Regions from separate parts of the Homo sapiens genome. Here region 2 is linked to region 1. The links are contacts of gene promoters, found by promoter capture Hi-C in human tissues and cell types (Jung and others, 2019). All regions are on one chromosome and are shown on one strand. The core of a region is centred on a gene start or on the middle of the fragment in contact, and the rest is flanking DNA. Distances in the headings are between cores, read along the strand shown.

What was found. The method cuts DNA at HindIII sites, captures the fragments that hold promoters and counts their contacts. A contact is called where the count stands out against the background at its distance.
Region 2: a fragment that was not itself captured here is called in contact with the fragment with the promoter of MUC20 in region 1 in 1 of the 25 tissues and cell types used here (IMR-90 fibroblasts).

What each region holds. Positions count from the first base shown.
Region 1 is chr3:195,719,728-195,722,691 of GRCh38, forward strand. MUC20 (mucin 20, cell surface associated) reads left to right here and starts at 1,251. Exons shown (of 4, transcript NM_001282506.2): 1 at 1,251-1,356. The coding sequence starts at 1,281. The HindIII fragment of the contact is 11,607 bases long and covers 1-2,964 here.
Region 2 is chr3:196,174,157-196,177,120 of GRCh38, forward strand. No RefSeq gene overlaps it. Among named protein-coding and RNA genes, the nearest start is that of LINC00885, 33 kb to the left of the region's middle. The HindIII fragment of the contact is 4,018 bases long and covers 1-2,964 here.

The sequences.
Region 1 (2,964 bases), core at 1-2,500:
ATGGCTAAATTTCTGAAGTAAAAGCTATAGGATCTTTGTGTGTGTGTATATATTTAAAAGGCCTTTATAATTTCTATAATTTTATGTTTAATTGGCAATTAAATCTGTTTTAATTTCCCTCCAGCACACCAGACTTTTTCTCTCCATACGTTATGATGTAAATTTTGCTATTCGATTTTCACCTCAGTTTCCTTAAAATGCAAATTCAAGGCTATTTAGCTGACAACCGCTTAGAGTAGTAAAACAGGTTATCAAGAATTCGAAGGTGTGGCTGGGCACGGTGGCTCACGTCTGTAATCCTAGCATTTGGGAGGCTGAGCCGCAAAGATCTCTTGAGGTCAGGAGTTCAAAACCATCTTGGCCAACATGTTGAAACCCCGTCTCTACTAAAAATACAAAAAAAATTAGCCAGATGTGGTGGCAGGTGCCTATAATCCCAGCTACTCAGGAAGCTGAGGCAGGAGAATCACTTGAAGCCAGGAGGCAGAGTTTGCAGTGAGTCGAGATCAAGCCATTGCACTCCAGCCTGGGCAACAGAGTGAGACTCTGTCTCAAAAAAAAAAAAAAAAAAAGTAAAAAAGAATTTGAAGGTGTAAGAAAAAAGCTCTTTATGAATCTATAAGATGAACTTCTTTCAGCATACCTAATACATCTGTGTATTTATGTGTTGTTGTGTACACAGTGTTTTGCTACTGAAAATATATAAAAGAGCTCTAATTAATTGGCTTAAGAAAATAAAAGCACTTGGCTGGGTGCAGTGGCTCATGCCTGTACTCCCAGCACTTTGGGAGGCTGAGGTAGGTAGATCACCTGAGGTCAGGAGTTTGAGACTAGCCTGGCCAACATGGTGAAACCCCATCTCTACTAAAAATACAAAAATTAGCCCGACGTGGTGGTGCGCGCCTATAATCCCAGCTACTCCAGAGGCTGAGGCAGGAGAATTGTTGGATCCCGGGAGGAAGAGGTTTCATTGAGCTGAGATCTCATTACTGTACACTCCAGCCTGGGTGACAGAGCAAGACTCCATCTCAAAAAAAAAAAAAGAAGCTAGTGATTCCATATCTTCAAATCAAATTTCAGTGGAGTGTTTACCGGGCAAGGAAGGCAGGGGGGTCAGCTTGCTGACAGCCTCAACCTGCCAGCCCTCAGCCTGCACATTTGTGATCACCTGGTCACACACCTGGGCAGGAGGCTGCCCCTCCTCCCTGGTTTGAGGAAGCAGGAAAAGGTACCCGCGAGAGACAGCCAGCAGTTCTGTGGAGCAGCGGTGGCCGGCTAGGATGGGCTGTCTCTGGGGTCTGGCTCTGCCCCTTTTCTTCTTCTGCTGGGAGGTTGGGGTCTCTGGGAGCTCTGCAGGTAAGGAGGCCTAGAAGGGCCTGGTGGGCCTCTCCCCTAGTAGGGCTCTGGGAGTGAATTTCAGTATGAGCCACCCTTCATGGGCAAGGGCAGGCTCTCTCGGGTTGATTATAATGAACCACAGTGCTACTTGTGAAGTGCTATTATTGTTGATAAAGAGTGTGCAAATGACAGTGTGAGTGTAAGCGTGCATGGCGCTGCAGTACACACTAATCAACCATGACGATGTGTGTGAGTGTAAGCGTGCCTGGCGCTGCAGTACACGCTAATCAACCATGACGCTGCCATCGTAAGGGATGGCTGAGAGTTTGTCTTTATGAACGTGGGACAGTAAGTGGGGCACGGAGCGGGGGTGCAGGGAGGTGCCAGCTGGTGATCATTGTGCAGAAAGCTGAAGAATGTGGCTTAACAAGATTCTGACTCCTCCCAGTTTATTACCTAGCATGGATTTCCTTCAAAATACAGATTTCGTGTGAAAAGTCCAACTGCCACAAACTGCTTGGGAAGGGTGGATGCTGACAGGCAGGGCTTTTGTGAAAGACGGGAATGAACCCTGACCTGTCGCTAATAGGAGTTGTGCCAAACTCATCACATACATTAAAAAATAGAAAAGGATTTATTTTTTTTTTAGTTCTATGCTCCCTCTAAACCTCGAGTGGAGAGGCCGGGCGTGGTGGCTCACACCTGTAATCCCAGCATTTTGGGAGGCTGAGGTGGGTGGATCACCTGAGGTCAGGAGTTCGAGACCAGCCTGACCAACATGGAGAAACCCCGTCTCTACTAAAAATACAAAATTAGCCGGGGGTGGTAGCAGGTGCCTGTAATCCCAGCTACTCGGGAGGCTGAGGCAGGAGAATTGCTTGAACCTGGGAGGTGGAGTTTGCAGTGAGCTGAGATCGCACCCTTGCGCTCTGGCCTGGGCAACAAAAGTGAAACTATGTTTCAAAAAAAAAAAAGCTGCAGTGGAGAGTCTGGAGTTCCCATCCCCACCACTCACAGCCTCCCCCATCATCAGCGTCCCCCACCAGAGTGGCACATTTGATAGGACTGAGGAACCTACTTTGATGCATCATTATCATACATTGTATTTTTAATCCTCACAACGGCCCTGCAAGATCGGCCCTGTTTTTACCACCCCCCACCTCCACTGCTTTAAGGGTGAGGCCACTGTGCTTCTGGGCATCCAGTAACAACTCCTCGGAGCCAGAATCTGACTCCTCACAGGCCTGAGCACTGCACCCCGTGGCCTCCTGCCTGTGCTCACCGTGGCCTGGTCTGCGCTGCACGTGTCCCGTTAGCTCCACCTTACAGGTGCGGAAATGCAGGCTTGGAGCTGAGAGACTTGGCCAGGGTCACAGGGCAGAGAGCAGATTCTCCAACTCAGGGTCCCAAGTCCACACGCTTTCCTCTCCACCAGATTTGAAGATTGTACCAGGAGAGCCGCAGTGTTCCAGAGCTACTGAGGGGCTGGGCTGGGATTTGCTGTATTCGAGAAGACCCCCTTGGACCCGAGAGGCTGTGGGCTTGGGGAGCATGAGGAGGTTTCACAGCAGAAAGGACACCCCGGGGCTCCTGGATAAGCCAGAAAATGTGCCAGGGGAAGTCGGG
Region 2 (2,964 bases), core at 159-2,658, 450 kb after region 1:
TCACCATGTTGGCCAGGCTGGTCTCAAACTCCTGACCTCAAGTGATCCACCTGCCTTGGCCTCCCAAAGGGCTGGGATTACAGGCTTGAGCCACCTCGCCCGGCCCTCAAATGACATCTTAAGGCCGGGTATAGCAGCTTACACCTATAATCCCAGAACTCTGGGGGGCTGAGGCAGGTGGATCACTTGAGCCCAGGAGTTCAAGACCAGCCTAGGCAACATGGTGAAATCTTGTCTCTACAAAAAATACAAAAATTCACTGGGCATGGTGGCATGCGCCTGTAGTACCACCTACTTGGGAGGCTGAGGTGGGAGGATCACCTGAGCCCGTGAGGTTGAGGCTGCAGTGAGCTGTGATTGCACCACTGCACTCTAGCCTAGGTGACAGAGAGAGACTCTGTTGAAAGGAAGAGAGAGAGAGAGAGAGGCAGAGAGAGAGAAAGAAAGAACAAAAAGAAAAGAAAGAGAGAGAAAGAAAATTTACAAAAAAACTCAATTTCTGTTGCAGGAAGAGGCTTAGAGATTGCCTCCTCCCACTCTTTCATTTTATGAAGCAGAAAAATGAGGGCCACACATGGCATCAGCTATTCCCGTTTCTTGATGGACAGACTGAGCTGGAACTGGCTTGGTCCATCACCCCAGGGAGTAATGGCTGGCTTAACAGCCCACAGCAAATTCTGTGGTTCACTGGACCAAGCAGCAGGTTCCAGGACAGCTGTGGGGTCAGTTGGGGCCATCTTTGGACTCAGCCTGAGTGTCAGCTGTCTCATGCCCACATCCTGGCACTCACAGGAGCCAGTAAAACTCTCTCCAGGGCAGTGGCTGCGACCCTGTCTCCTAAACTCAGAAAACCAGGTCCTAACTTTGGGGACTTGCGGGGAAGGGTGGGAGGGGGTCGGGGGATAAAAGACTACAAATAGAGTGCAGCGTATAGTGCTTGGGTGATGGTTGCACCCAAATCTCACAAATCACCACGAAAGAACTTACTCATGTGACCAAATAGCACCCGTACCCCAATAACCTATGGGAACATTCAAAAGAAAAAGAAAACCGTGTCCTAGTCTCCTCAGCCAGTGGGGCGGTGTGTGGTGGGTGGTCTGCACTTGGTCCCAGAGAGGTCAATGAGACCCAGACTTGCCTGTGAAAGAAACGGAGTGGTGGCGGGGCCCGGGAAAAACCCCTGCGTTCACTCGTTCACTCGGCGCCTGCTGTGTGGCAGGCAGCCCCCCTGCTGGGCTCGCTCAGTCCTCGGTACCATCCTGGGAGCAGGCATTAGCCCCCTTTTGCAGATGAGCCTCCGAAAAGGTGAAGAACTTGACCAAGGGTCAAACTGAGCAAATGGCAGAGTCAGGCCCCTACCCCGGCTGACCACCCAATGCCCAGTGGCTGCAGCGTTCCCGTTACACAGCACGATAGCTCTGCAACACACATAAGCATGCATTAAACCAGAGATGCGCCATCACTCCCACTTCTGGAAGCTGATCTCATAGCACAGCAAGAGACGAGCAAGAAGGATGTTCTAACAAGTGTGTTGAGGGGTCACAGGGTGGGCCTTTCTCACTCCAAGGCTCTGGGACTCTTGGAGCTCTGGTAGGAGCAGGGGAGACCAACCCTACCTCGGATGCAGGGGCAGCATCCGATGACCCTGATAATGACCACAAGAAAGAGGCAGCACCTCTAGGGCAGGAAAGTGCTGGGGGTCAGAGGCATGGGTGCCATTCCAGGCTGAGCCAGGCTGGCTGTGTGAGCCTGCGTGAGTCACTTAACCTCTGAACCTAGTGCTTCACGTGCAAAAGAGGGAAGCTTCCCTCATCCTCCTCCAGCCGTCACCCGCTGCCTTCCTTCTCTCTGCAGCAAAATGGCTCCGAAGCGTTGTCTACACTTCTTTTCTCTGATTCTTTATTTAAATTTGCACTTATTAGGCTGAGCGCAGTGGCTCATGCCTGTAATCCCAGCACTTTGGGAGGCCGAAGCGAGCAGATCACTTGAGGTTAGGAGTTCAAGACCAGCCTGGCCAACATGGTGAAACCCTGTCTCTACTAAAACACAAAAATTCGCTGGGCATGGTGGCAGGCACCTGTAATCGCAGCTACTCAGGAGGCTGAGGCAGGAGAATCACTTGAACCCGGGAGGCAGAGGTTGCAGTGAGCCGAGATCGTGCCACTGCACTCCAGCCTGGGCCACAGAGCAAGACTCTGTCTCAAAAATAATAAATAAATAAATAAATAAATAAATCTTCACTTATAAATTACTCCCTAAATAAAAATAACACGTTATATACATATATATACCCATCTCAGCCTCCCAAAGTGCTGAGATTACAGGTGTGAGCCATCGTGCTTTGCCATAACGTGGTTTTTTTAATGTTTTATTTTAAAAATGTTTTTATAACTTTTATCTATTTATTTATTTTTTGAGATGAAGTCCCGCTCTGTTGCCCAGGCTGGAGTGCAGTGGCACCATCTCAGCTCACTGCAAGCTCTACCTCCTGGGTTCAAGCGATTCTCCGGCCTCAGCCTCCCAAGTAGCTGGGATTGCAGGCATGTGCCACCGCACCTGGTTAATTTTTCTATTTTTAGTAGAGACAAATTTTTGCCATGTTGGCCAGGCTGGTCTCAAATCCCTGACCTCAGGTGATCCGCCCGCCTCGGCCTCCCAAAGTGCTGGGTTTACAGGCGTGAGCCACCGCGCCTGGACAAAATTTTTTTATACCTTTTAAATTCCAGACCCACCACCAGGTTGAATCCTCCGGGCTGACTGTGCAGACCCCCCACTATGCCCCCTACTTTCCATTAACTGGTATGTTTTATGTTATCAAGAATATTAAAACAAACCTATGCATCTGCCATTGAGCTTAAGAAATAGATGGCCGGACGCGGTGGCTCACGCCTGTAATCCCAGCACTTTGGGAGGCCGAGGCGGGCGGATCATGAGGTCAGGAGATCGAGACCATCCTGGCTAACA